Linked DNA regions of Homo sapiens: regions 2, 3, 4, 5, 6 and 7 are each linked to region 1. Evidence: promoter capture Hi-C in human tissues and cell types (Jung and others, 2019). All regions are on one chromosome and are shown on one strand. Each heading gives the region's core, a stretch centred on a gene start or on the middle of the fragment in contact. The rest is flanking DNA. Distances are from core to core; before and after follow the strand shown.

Region 1 (2,507 bases), core at 5-2,504:
TGAGTTTGTGTTGGTTGTTATTATTACTCTCTAGCCGATGGAGCTTAAACGGTGTGGTCTATCCCGGAGGACGAACTCCAGGTCCCACACTCTGTGGTGTCAAGTACACAGAAGGCCCTCAGAACCCGGCTGAGTGAACCCAGTGGTCCCTTCTGATTCACCGTTCACTTATTGCGTGTCTTCTCCATGCCAGGTGCTGGGCTGCCAGCTGCAGATGGAGCAGCGAACAAGCCCAGGGCTCCTCCCCCAGGTAAGCAGTGTCACTTCTAGGCCAGAGGGGCTCAAATGTTTTGGTCTAAGAAGCTTCTTACATTTAAAACTTCAGAATCCCCTCACTCCTGTAATCCCAGCACTTTGGGAGGCTGAGGTGGGCGGATCACTTGAGGTCCGGAGTTCAAGACCAGCCTGGCCAACATGGCAAAACCCCGTCTCTACTAAAAATTTTTTAAAAAGAAAATTAGCCGGCCGTGGTGGCGGGCGTCTGTAATCTCAGTTACTCGGGAGGCTAAGGCAAAAGAATCGCTTGAACCCGGGAGGCGGAAGTTGCAGTGAGCCGAGATCGCTGCACTCCAGCCTGGGCGACAGAGCGAGATTCCGTCTCAAAAAAAAAATTAATTTAATTAAATAAAATAAATTTTAAAAAATTCAGGATCCCAAAGAACTTTTGTATGTAGGCAACTGATATTTGCCATACTAGAAACTAAAACAAAAATTTTACATATTCATTAATTCACTTAAAATGACAATAAACCCATTGCTTGGTAACATAAACAACGTATTTTATGAGAAATAATTGTAGTTTTCAAAACAAAGATATGTCTTTAATGTCTGGCTTAAGGGAAGACAACTGGATTCTCATGCTGCACTCAACCTGTGCGATACCTAGTGCTGGTTGAAGTATATGAAAAACACTCCGCCCTGTCCCCATCCTAGCCCGCCACGGAGCCACGAGACCCGAGAGGATTGGCCAACCCGGCGGAGCAGGTTGCGGACGGCTTCCGGGGAAGGAGGGGACTGAGCGCCAGGAGCCAGGTAGATTGGGATTGAGTAACACATGTGTCTTTCTGCGCCTTGGACCCGCCTCCAGTTTCCGCCCCTTCTTCCGCTCAAGTGTAAACCCCTAACGCATGCGTCCTAAGAAAGATGGGCACTTCCGCCCATCCCCCTCCGGATCCCTCTGTTCGGGCTCGGGTTTCCGCCGAGACGACAGGGACTGCCAGGTCGGAAGTAGTGTGAGGCTCGTGGGCGGAGCCAAGCGCCGCCATGTCCGCCGCCCTGCTGCGGCGGGGCCTGGAGCTGCTGGCGGCGTCCGAGGGTGAGGAGGGCTGGCCAGGGGACGTCCGGCGCGGGCAGGAGGATGGTAGTGGCTGCGGGCGGGAGCCCTGGATGGAAAACAATCCAGGCCGGGCTTAGCCCCAGTGGCATGGGAACGCTGCGCGCCCTCTGACCTGGGTCTCTTCCTCTCTCTTCCCCTACAGCCCCCCGGGACCCTCCAGGTCAGGCCAAGCCGAGAGGGGCTCCGGTGAAACGGCCCCGGAAGACGAAGGCAATTCAGGCCCAGAAACTGCGGAACTCGGCCAAGGGAAAGGTGCCCAAGTCGGCACTGGGTAAGTTCGGGAAGGGGCTGAAAGTGCTGCCTCCGGTGCTGGGACCTGCGCCCCAGAGGAGGTGGCGCTTGAGGCAGGGCTTGAAGCGTTCGCCCGGTATTGCTAGACCTACTGTGTGCCAGGCGCGGAGCGGGGCCCTGGACATACGAAGGTGACAGAACACGCCACCGTCCTGGTCCTCGTGGACTACGGCCCTAGTGGGGAGAGAAGCATCAAAGAATATCAAACCCAGTGTGTCATTGCTAAGTGCATTGAAGCCTATGAATTAAAAGACTACGGTACTCTGATGGGGACTTAGGCCAAGTCAGCCTTCTCTGAGGAAGCGACATTTCAGCCGAGAGCTGAAGGATGTATAAGAGTGAGCTAGGTGAAAAGTAGGAGAATATTCTAGGAAGAATAGTATGTGCAAAGGTCCTGAGTCAGAAAGGAGGTTGTTGCCTTTGAGAATTTGAAAAAATAAAGGCTGGTAAAGGTGACCTAGTGAATGAGGATCAAAGATGGAGCATTTAAACACATTCACTAACACTCTGTACCAGGTGCTGATTCTAAGTGCTGTACAAATGTAAGCTCGTTTGATCCTTACAGCAGCCCTTTGAGGTCGATACTACTATCACCCCCGTTTTACAGATTCAGAAAAAGGCACCTGCCCAGGTGGTACAGGCATTGTGGCTGCCCGGGCATTGTGTCTCCAGAGTGCTGCTATTACCTACTCCATTGAAATAGGACATGCTGTGGCCTGGGCAGTGGCTATAGCAGCAGAGATAACAAGAGAATTGTGCAGGTGGAAAATATGTTAAAGAGGGGGCAGCAGAGAATTTCAGCCTTTAGAGGGGTTTTAGTGGTGAATTGGCTGTGAAGGTGGAGCCTAGTTTCTTGGGGGACGTAGTGTCACTTAATAGA
Region 2 (2,507 bases), core at 3-2,502, 790 kb before region 1:
AATTTCAAAAGAATCCATGATCGAGCTCTTACAAAGCTTAATCCTTCTCCCATATTTTTAAGATAATGAATTTACCTGTTGCTGCTAAATTGATAATTTTTAAAAAATATTTCTATGTGTTTTAAAATGTGTGATCCCCAGTATGACAATAATGTTTGGAGACTTTTCTTTTTACATTTTTTTAAGTAAAAATTGTTTAAACTTTCTGAAGTTTCAGGAACTTGTAAAAGTTTATTAACAGGAAAGAAACAGCCATCTCTCTAGGATAAGATATGGTTAAATAAACCATCTTCAAAAAACTGGCTTCCTACCCTAGAATTCCTGAGAATGCTTGCAAATTTTAAAGCAGGAAAACAAATGTTAAAAACAGAAACAAAAAACACTGTTAAATGCTCCCAGAGTTAGTCTTCATCTAAAATATATATTTATATGTATATATATACGCACTTTTTGGTCTTTTTTTTTTAAAGTTTTTAGTTTTTTTCCCTTTAAGCTTATGATGGAAGAACATTTTAGCTTCTCATGTTTATTTTTACATATTTCAAATCCCTCATTATGTCTTGTAAACAAGAGGGGCTCTAGCACCCGGCTTTCACCGTAGTATCGTAAGGAACTCAACTAACCCATAGTGCAGGTCAAGGAACCAACAGGCAGGAGGAGAGGAGGGTGGGGCAGGACACAGCAGTGAACCAAGAGCGGCAGTGGACAGGGTCGCCACTGGCTCGCAGGAGCCTTGGGATATGCTCCTGGCCCAGGGACACTAAGATTTAACCTTCTCTAGATGTCTGAATACAAGCTGCTCTTCACCTGGTGGTCACCGCACGACAGCACTTTGCTCCACACAGAGAGCGGTCAGTGGGGGCTGCTGGAAGCAGAGCTTTTGCATGGGGAACAGTGGTGGAAGGGGCACGGTGGTGATTCAAATTGCAGAGCAGGAAGAGGGCATGCTCAAGGCACCCAGCGGGGCCACGTCAATGCTGCAGATGCCAAGTGTGACCACCTACCCACAGAGGGCTCATGCAGGCTTGTATATGTGAACACTCACTTGAGTCATGCCTGTCAATCTCTTTTGAGGCTAGGTTTATAATCAACAGGGTAAGCCAGAAGGGCTACAGAATTTCCCATTCTTTGTCTCACAAAACCACTGAAATGCAAATAACTTGTTTTAGGCTTTTCCTATACACACCCACCCACCCACCTACACACAGACACAAGCTAAAAAGTCAAATACATTAGGCATTGTTGTATTGTATCCTTCACTGAAGACGCTAAAGAAAGAAAAACTCCCTTGTCCTCAATAGCAGCAAGTTACAGAGGACAGTAGAGGTCTGCTCCCACCAAGGGTTGGAATGGGCAGGTATTTGCTGGTACAAAATGTCGGCACTTTATGTTAAACAGCATAATGCAGACTGGGATGTCCACACAAGTGCTAGCACGTCACCGGCATCCATCCCCCCACCCTATCTGGTTTTTCGCCCCCTTCAGGTCTGCTATAATTCTCTTCACAATAAGCAGTTTGATACATTTTGATTCCGACATAAGTACATACATGTTGGTGATAACTGTAGATTAAACGTTGACCCCTGTTCGGCCCAGAGTACTACTACATTGATGCTTAAAAAAAAAAAAAAGTATTTAAATACCGAAATTAAAAAAGCAAAATTACAAGGTGGGGGGAAGAGGTCAAAAATCAAAAAAAGGTGCAATACTTAAAAGTCTTCGCTAAGTTATACCTGCCTAAGCAAAACCACATACACAGGAAATACACAACACAGAGAAACAAAAGGAAACGCTTGAAGTACACACTGGTTTAAGAACATTCGTTAAGTAAACGTTTCTGTCAGTGATGGCCTGGTGCTGTAACGCGCCACGGCCTGGCACAGGTAACGCTCGGCGAGAAAGGAGCAGAGGGAGTAGCTGCAGATGCTTTCAGGAGGCTGCTCACCACTTATTCTTTTCTGTTTTCATAAAATGAAAAAGAGAACCAACCAACAGAAATATGTAACTCAACTTCACCTAATTTTTTGAAGAATTTCTCAAACCTGATCATAAGGAAAGAGGGAACAAAGTTTCTCTGTTTTTGAGACATCGCATCATCAAAAGTTATCTTCCGTTCCCATTTCAAACTAACGAAAAGGCCTGCATGAAACTTAACAGATACTCAGATGTGCCTGGTGGCCATTCACTTAAAAAAAAAAAAAAACAGAAATAAACACACCGTTGCTCCAAGAGGTACCTCCTGCTCTAGTTTTTTGGACTTGGCAGTGCTCCACTCTACTGCTAGGTCAAAAGAACAGCCAGAGAAACCCCACATTCAGGCTAAGTTGCAAATGGAAAGGAGCTCCCTGCTTTCATCATTAAAAAGCACTCTGTTCATCTTAATGCAGCCCAATGGAGTTGCTTTAGTAGCAGTGGCTCTCCGGGCCTGTGTGTTCTCATAGTTAAAAAAATAAAATAAAAAGCAGATGGGCCGGCCAGCCAGCCTGCAGACTGTCAGCGATGCAGCT
Region 3 (2,507 bases), core at 6-2,505, 770 kb before region 1:
TCAGGCAATCTGCCCACCTCTGCCTCCCAAAGTGCTGGGATTACAGGCATGAGCCACCGTGCCTGGCCTTATTTATTTATTTTTTTTAAAGAAGAGTTTGAGGCATTTTTAAATTTCTTTCATCCTGGGTAGCAGAAATGAAATTAGATTGCAGGGCAGGAAGGTTGCAAGGAACAAAGGTTTTCTCTGACATAGCCTTAATGGCCTAAGCAGGTTGCTCCTTGAGTAAATTACACTTCTGCCTTTGAGAAAACCAGGCCAAGGTGCTTGGATTCCAGGCCACCTGAAAGCTCAGTTCTAATCATTGAGAAAGAGTTTTTGGAAATAACCTAGGATTCTGGCAAAGATTAAAAAGAATACTAGCATTACTAAGAAGAGGAGGAACCATTCCTTACACATTAATTTTCTTTGAAGTTACTCTAAAATTTCTATAAAACCCATAGTGAATTAAATTTCTTTTTTTCTTTCTTTTCTTTTTTTGAGACGGAGTCTCGCTCTGTCGCCCAGGCTGGAGTGCAGCGGCACAATCTTGGCTCACTGCAACCTTCGCCTCTGGGTTCAAGCGATTTTCCTGCCTTAGCCTCCCGAGCAGCTGGGACTACAGGTGCCTGCCACCACACTCGCTGATTTTTTTTGTATTTTTAGTAGAGACGGGGTTTCATCGTGTTAGCCAGGATGGTCTCAATCTCCTGACCTTGTGAGCCGCCCGCCTCGGTCTCTCAAAGTGCTGGGATTACAGGTGTGAGCCACCGCGCCCAGCCAGTGAATTAAATTTCTTTAATTTCAGCTGCTTAGAGCTTTTTTGGTGACAAATGAAATGCAGAAAATTAAAGTTATAGCAAAAGGGCAAAGAAAGAAAAAAGCGAAAAAAGAGAAACATAAGAGGAAAGAAGGAAAGAAAATGAATGAGAGAAAGAAAGAGAAAGAGAAAGAAAAAGTAAGCAAGCAAGGAAAGGCAAGAACCTTAGAGAAAGCGGGCACTTTTCTCATTAGAGACTTGGGGATCAAATGCCACCACAGTAGGGCAGTCCCAGCGCTGCCTCACAAGGTTTGGTCAGGAAAAATAATCCAAGGGGTAAGAGAAAGAATAGGTGAGAAAATTGCCTTGAAAGGTTCAATCTACAAACCCCAAAGTATGAGAGGAAAAATCAGGCGAAGACGGACATAATTTTCTTTGATGTCACGTAGTAACCAGCCTGACGCTAGGATATGGAATGTGTCTGATGCATTTTGATGGAAGGAATTCTGGGACACTGTGCTCTAGTGGGTGCACTAACAAAGAAGAGATGGTGCTTCGCTAGTGACCTTCGGCTATTTACAAGCTGTCGTATCTCTAAACCCAAGAAAATACTGACTGTATTGTACTTTCCACTACAGCAAAACAAAATTTCCTTAGTCCACCAAGTGGTTTCCCTGAAATTTCTCACCAACACAGAGCTTTAGCTCAAATTAAGCCATTTAGTTCAGTTCAATGAATATTTATGGACAGTGTAATCTGTGCCAGGCCCTGTGTTAGGAGCTGAGGTACAAGTAGAGGTAAGACATGCCCCTTGCCTGTCACCTGCTTTTATCATTCATGCAAGGACAACCCTTTGCCTGCCTCATGCGTCTTTGCTAGAATTACTCTCTCTCATTCTCCACACACCCTAATTCATGGTCTGTTCACGACTTTTGGCTCCATTCTTACATCCTTGAGGAAATGCTCTTAAATTAACTTGTCCTTACACTGATCCTGCCTTCACTCTCTCTGTTTACAGTTCTGTTTTCTGCTCCTCTTTTTGCTATACATTAAAAAACAAACTAGTTTCTATAATTATTTTTAAAAAATCACCCATAATTGGCCATCCTAACACAACTGTTCTAAGTCCGTGTCCACATGTACACTTGGTATCGACACAATCATAATTGCAGCATAGATACAATTACTCTTCTGTCATTTTTATAATCTCCAATATTTATTCAGCTTTACTTTTCACAGGGATATACCAAATAAATATTACAAATTTTGATAAATTTTAAACATAAAAAGTGAAATTTTATCAGAAATGCATTTTCTAAGAAGATGAATTACTTTGTTTCTAAATGAGTTCAGATATCCACGGTAACCAACACTCCTTACTATAATGAGAATTTTCGCTACCATCTTATTTTAAATTTCTTTGTTGACATAAAGCACTAAGAAATTTGACTCATATAAATAAGTAGATGGGAACAGAAGGAGTCTTGTTATAACTTACTTCTCGAATTTCTTTTAAAGTATATGTTCCTTCCCCTAGCCCAGTAACACAGATACTAAAATATAATTTTTAGATAGGTCATTATCACCTAACAATTCAATTAGGTATTCTTTCTCTCTGTCTCCCTCTCCCTCTCACTCTTCACCTTGGCCTCCCAAAGTGCTGGGATTACCAGGCATGAGCCACGCACTCAACCTCAATTAGGTATATTTTCAATTTTGCTAAAAGGACAGAATTAGAAACCATCTGTTTTACAAAAGAATCAGTAAG
Region 4 (2,507 bases), core at 4-2,503, 740 kb before region 1:
AAACTGGGCATTATAAGGAACTCATAGTGCTTCCTCTGTTTGTTTCACAGCATAAAAGACATTGGTCCTGGTGGTAAAGAGACCTAGTGGAAGACACCATTGCTGATCTCCTGGGCAAAGTAGGGCAGAGGTAGGTTTTAATTTTTTAATGGGACAAACTAGTTTCTCCCCTGAACAAGGCACTGACCATGAGCTCCACTTTCACTTCTGTGAGGGAAGCAGGGGGAACTATGAAGAGGACTGGGTGGGCTGGGGCTTTGTGCAGTTGTGTATTTCACAGGTGAAAATTCTCTATGTTGTGATGATAGCTATCTTTTTTTTTTTTTTTCTCTGTCACCCAGGCTAGAGTGCAGTGGTGCCATCCCAACTCACTGCAAGCTTTGCCTCCCGGGCTCACGCCATTCTCCTGCCTCAGCCTCCCGAGTAGCTGGGACTACAGGCACCCGCCACCATGCCCGGTTAATTTTTTGTATTTTTAGTAGAGATGGGGTTTAACCATGCTAGCCAGGATGGTCTCCATCTCCTCACCTCGTGATCCGCTTGCCTCGGTCTCCCAAAGTGCTGGGATTACAGGTGTGAGCCACCGTGCCCAGCCCGTGATGGTAGTCATCAAATCAATTTTATTATCCTTGAAAGTGACGAAGTACTTAAGTTTAGTACAGGTTTTTTTGGTGTGTGTGTGGGGGGCGGTTTTTTTTTTTGAGACTGAGTTTCGCTCTTGTCACCCAGGCTGGAGTGCAATGGCGCGATCTCGGCTCACTGCAACCTCTACCTCCTGGGTTCAAGCAATTCTCCTGCCTCATCCTCCCAAGTAGCTGGGATTGCAGCTGCCTGCCACCACACCCAGCTAATTTTTGTAGGTTTAGTAGAGACGGGGTTTTGCCATGTTGGCCAGGCTGGTCTTGAACTCTTGACCTCAGGTGATTCACCTGCCTCAGCCTCCCAAAGTGTTGGGATTACAGGCATGAGCCACCGCAGCCAGCTAGTACAGGTTTTAAGGTCAAAAAAGCCCTCACTAGAGGGAGGGGGGAATGGGGAGTTACTGTTTAATAGGTACAGAGTTCAGTTTTGTAAGATAGAAAGAGTTCTGCGGATAGATGGTGGTAAATGGCAACATAAGTATGTGAATATACTTATTGCCACTGAACTGTACACTTAAAAATGTACGCTATGGTAAATTATATGTTATATGTATTTTATCACAATTTTTAAAAAAAACGCCCTCGGTATATAAAGTCAGAATCACTGGTACTGGGGCTGAAAGAGTCAATTCCCAATTAACTTAATTAAATCTTGGTTGTCAACCTAGAGAGGTATTTATTAGTCCCTTTCAATCAGTTAATTTAGTCTCATTGTTAATTTGTAAATAACCAAAAGAAAGCCAAAATCACACTAGACAACCTAAGAGTGCAAGGAATGCTGAAAAGTTTGCTGAATAATTCCTTCTGTGACTGAAGAAATAAAAGCTCTTAATAGAAGAAAACCCGTAAGTGACTGCTTAAGCAAAACATCTCTAAACAGAAACAGACTGTATTCTTATGCTATAAAAGAAAGAGTCATCTACAAAATTAGTGTCCTATAGGCAAAGGGCAAAGGGGATGAAGGCCCAATCCTCAGACATGGGAAGGCCTCTAAGATGGCATCTGGTATTTGAAACGTGGGAGAATATTAGCTGTGAACCGTTTCATAGGGTGCCAAGACTCTCATGTTGAAGTTAAGTATTGGATGCCCATTTCGTATTTCCACTATTTTATTTGTCAAACGAAAATCTGGAATTGAAAAAAGAGAGGGTCTGCGAAGACACTGGTTCAGGCTCAAAGACTACTGTTCTAGATTGAAAACCAAAGTCCTCATCAAACTGTGATGAGGACTTTCACACAGAAGGTGAAAAGTTTAGTACACAACCTGGTACATGATGTAGAGAAATCATCTAGCTGCTAGGCTGGGCGCAGAGGCTCACGCCTGTAATCCCAGCACTTTGGGAGGCCGAGGTGGACGGGATCACGAGGTCAGGAGATCGAGACCATCCTGGCTAACATGGTGAAACCCCATCTCTACTAAAAATACAAAAAATTAGCCGGGCGTGGTGGCAGCTGCCTGTAGTCCCAGCTACTCGGGAGGCTGAGGCAGGAGAATGGTGTGAACCTGGGAGGCAGAGCTTGCAGTGAGCTGAGACTGCACCACTGCAGTCCAGCCTGGGCGACAGAGCAAGACTCCGTCTCAAAAAAAAAAAAAAAAGAGATATCATTAATCATTTAGCTGCTATAGCACACAAGTACTCACTGGTATTTCATTTGTCGGGAGAAGGGTTCTGGGTCTTGGAATTTCCCAAATCAGATAAAATCAAGACGTGCTGATTGCCGCGGGAGAAGCCAGCATTATCTTCCTCTGGATTCCCTCCTACATATCTATGGGGATTTACTGGAAGGACTTCTCTGGCTTTAGAATGCAAAAGCATTTATAAAGTATGCCTTGAGAGCCTCCAAAAGATTATTATAATGTGGAAA
Region 5 (2,507 bases), core at 3-2,502, 720 kb before region 1:
ATTAGGAAGAATAGTAAAACTTAAAAAAAAAAAAAAAAAAGCATTCCACTCATTATACGATGAGGTCCCACTGAGAATGCTACTTGCATTTTGAATGCTATGACTAGAGAAAAATCACATGAATGTGGCCCAGAAACTAAATTAGCCATAGACACAAAAAGATTCCCCTATGAGTATAGACACAAACACTTGATCTGAAATCTAAAAGCAAAACCTCAGGGACTCATCATCAGAGGCATCAGACGTCATGGTCGGAAAGCAGGATTCAAAACCAAACCTTGTCACTTTCTGGCTATGAGACCCCCAGTTTTCTATTATCTATTGAATGGAGATAATAATAGTATAAACCCTGCAAAGGACTGCTGTAAGGATTAAATCAGATATGCTATGCAGTGCTCAATAAATGTTTGCTGTTATTATCAACACTTATATAAAATAGCATGAAGTACAGCAGTAAGATTGAAATATGTAAATTTTGGACAAATCAAGGGTGCTTTGTTAAAAAAAAAAGAAAGTATTTCTTTATATAGTAACTAATACGTCTATGGAAATGATTAACCTAGAAGGCTGGACAGGCTGAACATAGTAATGGACTTCAGAGAGTTTGGAAATGATGATTAGGAGCCTTACAGAAAACTGCTTCTGATATTTTTAAGAGGGGAAAATAAAGGAGGGCATCTAATTTATAACAATAAAACCACAAAGGTGATGCACAAGCAAAACATCCAAAAGGAACTAAGCCATTGTTCCAATAGTGGTTACACTAAATTTTTGAGATTGTGGGTGATTCTGACCCATTTTCCCAACTGTTAATCTTTTAAAGCATTTTTACTTGGTTATCTGACTTTTGTAATAAAAATATTCATATAGCAAAGAAGAAGTCTGATGATTTGTGGCTGGTAATCGTACTGGATTACGGCCATGGGGGTTCACAAAAACACAATCATCCCTGGAAGGAAGGTCCTGTAGCTGACCAGCCCACCTCGCAATGGATCCCAGCACACCATCAGACTCTAAATAAGAGTTAAAGGATCCGCCTGTAGAACTTCCTGGTGTGTTTCCTACATTCCTGTGTTAAATGACAAGCTAATTCTATTACAGTGAATTTGTGGAATCCAGCATCTTAAAAATGAATGTTTCCCAGTACTGTTACAGAGCTCAATTCTACTGAAAATATTCTTGTGTAATTTTTCTACATCTTTACTTATCCAAGAATGAATGACAATGCAGCCACATACCAATTCCCGAAGGCAATTTAGGTTTTATATCATTGTAACTATTTCTTAGAATGCCATTTTGAAGATCAGTTATACAGGAAGTCAGTGCCTTCCCATTGTAAGCAACAAGCCCAAATAATGTCAAATATGTTTTATCATGTGGGTTCTGTTAAAAGCTGTCCCCCAGACGGCGAGAAGCTGGATGATCAAAGCATGTGTTCTGCCAACGCTAAACAATGCTCCTTTAGCAGCATCAGCCTAAATGAATGTGAATGGAACCCTTCTTTGACACCTCTCTCATGAATGGGTATCTACCAGTTTACTCAGTGATGGCTCCAGGAAGAGCCAACTGCTACAACCAATGAACACTGGAAAAGGCTCATGCTTAATTTCTGTGTGGAGGTAATTTAGTTTTAGCTTTAAGTAAGTGTCAATTCTTCAAGAAAATTATGTTTCCACCTTCATTCTTGACCATTCACTTATTAAACAATTTCTGAGTGATTATCCTGCACCAGGCACTGCCCTAGTTACTGGCCATACAAATACGAATAAAACCAAGAAACTTACAGTCAGTCTAACAGTGAAGATGGACACAAAGAGGTGGTCAAAAAGCACTGGGGAAAGCAGCATGAGAGATGTGGAAGCCCTTAGAAGAGGCACCACAAATGTTTGCGGACCGAATGAATGAACCACTGACCACATGATAGATCTCTGGCACGTTCTCCACGATTCTTTGCATCATAGCACATTTTATGGCTCCTAGCTGAGGTGATGTCTCTACAATAAGGTTGGAAACCACGAAGATAATCACATGGTAAGCTTTGTGCTCTCCTTAAAACTGCTAAATCAGAATTTAATTCTGAAATTATGCAATGGTTCAGTATAATAAAACAAGATCAAAGGCCACGCATCAGCCTGCGTCAGCCTAGATTCTATGTCAAGCTGATCTGGAACATTTTTGAGCAAAAACGATAGAATTTTTATTGTTCATAAAATTAATCACTTAAAAATTTTATTTACGGTAATTTTCCCCTTTGCTATCACTTCTTCATCAGTTCTTAATGCAGATGAAGGCACATAGGAGAGACTGTCCAGCTACATAAACTACATTCTCTGCATAAATAATCTCATTCACTCTCAAGTACATTCACACCATCTTTATTTTAAATCATTTTTCTTTGTGGAATCCAATCAAAGGCATATTACAGAGGCATATTTTATTAATCATTTTAGGTATTGATATTTGTAGTTTAAGAAAACACTGTTATGTATGTTAAAAATGAAGAGGAA
Region 6 (2,507 bases), core at 3-2,502, 630 kb before region 1:
AGTTTGGCTGTGTCCCCACACAAATCTCATCTTGAACTGTAGTTCCCATAATCTCCATGTGTTGTGGGAGGGACCCAGTGGGAGGTAACTGAATCATGGGGGTGGTTACTCTCATGCTGTTCTTGTGATAGTGAGTTCTCATGAGATGTGATGGTTATATAAGGAGCTTTCCCCCCCATTGCTCAGCACTTCTCCTTTCTGCCGCCAAGTGAAGAAGGACATGTTTGCTTTCCCTTACGCCATGGTTGTAAGTTCCCTGAGGCCTCCTCAGCCATGTGGATGTGTGAGTCAATTAAACTTCTTTCCTTTATAAATTACCCAGTCTCAGGAAGTTCTTTATTAGCAGCATGAGAATGGACTAATACACTGGCCTATAGGTAGGATGCTTAAGGAGAACGAAGATAAAATCAGGTCTGTTGGAACATATTCAAGAAAGGACTGAATCTAAAGTTGATGACTGGGCATGGTGGCTCATGCCTGTAATCCAAGTACTTTGGGCGGTTGAGGTGGGAGGACTGCTTGAGTCCAGGAGTTCAAAACCAGCCTGGCAACATAGTCAGGCTTTGTCGCTACTAAAAACAAAAAAATTAGCCAGGCATGGTAGTGCGTGCCTGTAGTACTAGCTACTCCAGAGGCTAAAGTGGGAGGATTGCTTGAGTCCAGGAGGTGGAGGCTGCAATAAGCCATGACCATGCCACTGCACTCCAACCTGGGTGACAGCGAGAGACCCTGTCTCAAAAAGAATTTTTTTGGTTGAGGCTTGAGTGAGCCCAAATTGCACCATTGCACTGCTTGGGTGACAAAGTAAGACCCTGTCTCAAAAAAAAAAAAAAAAAGAGCCGGGGGGAGGGGTGGGTGCGGTGGCTCACACCTGTAATCCCAGCACTTTGGGAGGCTGAGGCAGGCGGATCATCTGAGGTCAGGAGTTTGAGACCAGCCTGGCCAACATGCTGAAACCGTGTCTCTACTAAAAATACAAAAATTAGCCAGGCGTGGTGGTGGGTATGTGTAATCCCAGCTACTTGGGAAGCTGAGGCAGGAGAACAGCTTGAACCCTGGAGGCGGAGGTTGCAGTGAGTGAGCCAAGATCGTGTCACTGCACTCCAGCCTGGGCAGAGTGAGACGCTATTTCAGGGAAAAAAAAAAAAAAACTTTTTTTTTTTTTTTTTTGAGACAGAATTTTACTCGTTGCTCAGGCTGGAGTGTAATGGCGCGATCTCGGCTCACCACAACCTCTGCCTCCCAGGTTCAAGCGATTCTCCTGCCTCAGCCTCCTAGTAGCTTGGATTACAGGCATGCACCACCATGCCTGGGCTAATTTTGTATTTGTAGTACAGACCAGGTTTCTCCATGTTGGTCAGGCTGGTCTTGGACTCCTGACCTCAGGTGATCCACCCGCCTTGGCCTCCCAATATGCTGGATTATAGGCATTGAGCCACTGTGCCTGGTCAAAATAAAATTAAAAAAAATTAATTAAAAAAAAATAAAGTGGAACATGACATGTTAACATGTTAACAATGCCCTTTTTTTTTTTTTTTTTTTAAAGGCAGAGTCTCACTCTGTCGCCCAGGCTGGACTGCAGTGGTGTGATGTTTGCTCACTGCAACCTCCGCCTCCCAGGTTCAAGTGATTCTCCTGCCTCAGCCTCCCGAGTAGCTGGGATTACAGGAGCCCACCACCACACCTGGCTAATTTTTTTTTTTTTCTTTTTAGTAGAGATGGGTTTTCACCATGCTGGTCAGGCTGGTCTTGAACTCCTAACCTCAAGTGATCCACCTGCCTCGGCCTCCCAAAGTGCTTCAATGTACCTTTCTTCTGCTGATAACAGATAAAATATTCTGGAATTAGGCTTTATAATAACACCACCTCAGATTTCAAAGTGAGTGTGTAGAAGAGGGATTCTTAACAGTCGATGGGAACTTATTCATTCAACATATATTTATAGATGCTTTTTGTGCCAGGCACCTCTCTAGGCAGTGACCAAGACAACAGAAATCCATCCTCATAGAGCCGAAGATCTAGCATAAAGCTTTAACCTGATCTTTTCTGCCTTGAGCCTCCCCTCCCCTTATTTTATTTATAAAATTAAATAAAATAAAAAAATAAAATAAAATTGTGAAACACATTATCTATTAAAGTTACCCTTTTCTTTTCTTTCTTTTTGTTTTTGAGACAGAGTTTCGCTCTTGTTGCCCAGGCTGGATTGCAATGATGCCATCTTGGCTCACTGCAACCTCCACCTCCCGGGTTCAAGTGATTCTCCTGCCTCAGCCTCCCGAGTAGCTGAGATTACAGGCATGCGCCACCACACCTGGCTAATTTTGTAGTTTTAGTATAGACGGGTTTCTCCATGTTGGCCAGGCTGGTCTTGAACTCCTGACCTCAGGTGATCTGCCCGCCTCGGCCTCCCAAAGTGCTGGGATTACAGGCGTGAGCCACCGTGCCTGGCCTTTTTTTTTTTTTTTTTTTTTTTTGAGACAGGGTCTCATTCTGTCATCTATTAAAAT
Region 7 (2,507 bases), core at 5-2,504, 560 kb before region 1:
CACACCAATGCGCTCCAGCCTGGGTGACAAAGTGAGATTTCATCTCAAAAAAAAGAAAAAAAAAGTCTATGAAGAAATCAAGTTAACAGGGTTTTATTTAACCTCTTTTATTTTATATTTGTATCTCCTTTCACCCATGTTGGGAATCTGGATCTCAAAACAGTGGAAATTATAAAGTACCACATAATTACTCATTTGTTTTTTTCTGACAATATACACTCAACAACAATCTCAAAATAGTACTAACAAGATCACTGGTATGTTCCACATGAGTACAGTTGAAGGACTTTGTTGTTGTTGCTACTGTTTGTTGCAGTTCTTTTTTCACTCTCAGGGCATATACCCACTAAGAATGTAAAGTTCGAATTAGTGAGGTTTAAAATTTAGGTTTACTTGTTTCTCATTTTCCATTTAAAAAAGCTATCAACCATATTTAAGGCAGTCTAGCTTCTCTCCCTGTCCCCTCTACCCTATTTCCTTCCTCCTTCTCTCATAATTTTTAAGCTTGTATGATTTATTCTTCCATTAAAAAAATATAAATTGGCTGGGCAAGGTGGCTCACACAGGTAATCCCAGCACTTCAGGAGGCCAAGGTGGGTGGATCACCTGAGGTCAGGAGTTAGAGACCAGCCTGACCAACATGGTGAAGCCCCGTCTCTACTAAAACACACACACACACACACACACACACACACACACACACACACACACAAAAGTAGCCGCCGGGCATGGTGGCAGGTGCCTATAATCCCAGCTACTCAGGAGGCTGAGGCAGGAGAATTGCTGGAATCTAGGAGGCGGAGGTTGCAGTAAGCTGAGACTGCACCACTGCACTCCAGCCTGGGCAACAGTGTGAGACTCTGTCTCAAAAACAACAACAACAACAAAGAAAACAAAATAAATAAGTTGCAGATACTGAGATCAAAATATGTAGAAGCTCTTGCATTCATAGTAAGTGGAAGAACAGAGCACAAACACCACTGGGTCTGTAGTCAGAAGGCCCGCTGTCCAGTTCCTGCTTCACCACCTATTAGCTGGCCTTGAGGAACTACCTAATTTTTCAGAGCTTCAGTCTCTTTTCTGTATGATGTGAAAAATAGTAAATATCCACCTTATAAGGTCGCTGTGAGGATGAGACGAGATAGGAAAGTCTTTTAAAGGTACAACTTTTTATGAGTTCATCCTTGGAGTGAAGGTTTCTGAAGATTAGCCAAAAATAATTCCGTTTATTAAAAGTTTCTTTCACTCTTAAGTACAAGGTAAGCAGGAATAATTTTAAAAATATTTCTTTATTAACAAAGGACCCTCGAGAAATAGGAGAGAAAAGCTGAACTCAGAGTTCCCAGCATCTCCCAGGAGGACCAAGAGGTCCTGAAAAGTATTATGTCTGGTCTCTAGTCTGGGTCACCAAACGCTGTACATCTGTAACGGAGATGGAGGCCAACAGCAGCCTCTGTGATGAGGGCCCTGCCTACATCTCCAGCTCCTCTCCTAATTCCCTGCCTCCCTCTCAGTCTCCAGCCTCACTAGCATTCCCAGGTCCCCCAAGGCTTCAAGCTCTTTCCTCCCTCAGGACCTTCACACATAGCTAGCCCCTTTGCTTGAAGGCTCTGGACCCAATGATCACCTGGCCAATGCCTACTTTTCCTTTAAATCTTTGCTTAAATGTTACTTTGTCAGAAAGGCCTTTCTGTCCTCTCAGACTAAGCCAGGCTCCCCCCAGTTAATCACTCTTACAGCTCCCTGTATTTTTCCTAAAATGCACTTACCAGTGTTTGGAATTACATATATAATTGTCTTTCTCCCACTAGAAAATGGTCAGTTTAGCATGTGTGTTTCTTATTTCTTTATTCTCATTTCCTAGTACCATGCCTGGTATTACTCTGGTGCTCAGTATGTGTCAAATGAATAACTGAATTAATGAAAAGCTTAACATATCATGTATAAAATGGCTGAATTAGATCCTGAACACTGGGAAAGAAGGCAGGACCAAGTTGTTACATACTGAAAAAAATTTCTACATTCCAGAGTCTTCCCATAAGGGGGCAATATTCCATTCTCCTCTAACTTGATTCATAATTTAAATATACAATCATTCTAATGATATATTTCCATCTCTTATCTATAATGAGTTTTTATGATAAAAATATCCAGAAACACATTACTTACACCAAACACAAAACTAAGCTTTTCACTACTGATGCAGTATAAGCTGAGGATATATAATAAAGCAAAATTTTCCAAACACAACACCAGGCCCTCCTAAAAATGCCAGGAAGAAGGCTTGTGTCTGTGAGAGGGGAGCCTACAGGGACGGGGGACCTGGAGATAAAAAAAAGACTTAAGAAATACATCAAACAAATGCTATAATGATAATCTTTAAACACTGCCTGGTTTTTATGTAGCTGGAAATATGAAAAGCTTATTAGCATCTCTCTTCACTGGACATGATGAACAAAGTATGGCAGAGAGAGGACAATCAATTTTAAAGGGGAGTTAAGGCTTCA

What was found. The method cuts DNA at HindIII sites, captures the fragments that hold promoters and counts their contacts. A contact is called where the count stands out against the background at its distance.
Region 2: a fragment that was not itself captured here is called in contact with the fragment with the promoter of RPS19BP1 in region 1 in 1 of the 25 tissues and cell types used here (dorsolateral prefrontal cortex).
Region 3: a contact is called between a fragment that was not itself captured here and the fragment with the promoter of RPS19BP1 in region 1, in 1 of the 25 tissues and cell types used here (lymphoblastoid cells).
Region 4: a contact is called between a fragment that was not itself captured here and the fragment with the promoter of RPS19BP1 in region 1, in 1 of the 25 tissues and cell types used here (spleen).
Region 5: a contact is called between a fragment that was not itself captured here and the fragment with the promoter of RPS19BP1 in region 1, in 1 of the 25 tissues and cell types used here (lymphoblastoid cells).
Region 6: a contact is called between a fragment that was not itself captured here and the fragment with the promoter of RPS19BP1 in region 1, in 1 of the 25 tissues and cell types used here (dorsolateral prefrontal cortex).
Region 7: a contact is called between a fragment that was not itself captured here and the fragment with the promoter of RPS19BP1 in region 1, in 2 of the 25 tissues and cell types used here (heart left ventricle and mesenchymal stem cells).

What each region holds. Positions count from the first base shown.
Region 1 is chr22:39,531,495-39,534,001 of GRCh38, reverse strand. RPS19BP1 (ribosomal protein S19 binding protein 1) reads left to right here and starts at 1,254. Exons shown (of 4, transcript NM_194326.4): 1 at 1,254-1,315; 2 at 1,479-1,607. The coding sequence starts at 1,264. RefSeq lists enhancers at 1,060-1,109, 1,160-1,219, 1,009-1,524, 1,525-2,040 and silencers at 1,330-1,489, 1,670-1,799. The HindIII fragment of the contact is 6,935 bases long and covers 1-2,507 here.
Region 2 is chr22:40,323,987-40,326,493 of GRCh38, reverse strand. It overlaps TNRC6B (trinucleotide repeat containing adaptor 6B), which reads right to left. Exons shown (of 23, transcript NM_001162501.2): 23 at 1-2,507. Among named protein-coding and RNA genes, the nearest start is that of ADSL, 21 kb to the left of the region's middle. The HindIII fragment of the contact is 3,074 bases long and covers 1-2,507 here.
Region 3 is chr22:40,304,265-40,306,771 of GRCh38, reverse strand. The region is part of intron 15 of TNRC6B (trinucleotide repeat containing adaptor 6B); the gene reads right to left. Among named protein-coding and RNA genes, the nearest start is that of ADSL, 41 kb to the left of the region's middle. The HindIII fragment of the contact is 3,956 bases long and covers 1-2,507 here.
Region 4 is chr22:40,274,154-40,276,660 of GRCh38, reverse strand. All of the region lies in intron 7 of TNRC6B (trinucleotide repeat containing adaptor 6B), which reads right to left. It overlaps LOC124905121 (a long non-coding RNA gene), which reads left to right. Exons shown (of 2, transcript XR_007068107.1): 1 at 1-130. Among named protein-coding and RNA genes, the nearest start is that of ADSL, 71 kb to the left of the region's middle. The HindIII fragment of the contact is 7,274 bases long and covers 1-2,507 here.
Region 5 is chr22:40,248,467-40,250,973 of GRCh38, reverse strand. All of the region lies in intron 2 of TNRC6B (trinucleotide repeat containing adaptor 6B), which reads right to left. Among named protein-coding and RNA genes, the nearest start is that of TNRC6B, 72 kb to the right of the region's middle. The HindIII fragment of the contact is 4,738 bases long and covers 1-2,507 here.
Region 6 is chr22:40,163,424-40,165,930 of GRCh38, reverse strand. It overlaps a transcript of TNRC6B not described here. Among named protein-coding and RNA genes, the nearest start is that of TNRC6B, 13 kb to the left of the region's middle. The HindIII fragment of the contact is 6,155 bases long and covers 1-2,507 here.
Region 7 is chr22:40,086,790-40,089,296 of GRCh38, reverse strand. It overlaps a transcript of TNRC6B not described here. Among named protein-coding and RNA genes, the nearest start is that of TNRC6B-DT, 44 kb to the right of the region's middle. The HindIII fragment of the contact is 3,769 bases long and covers 1-2,507 here.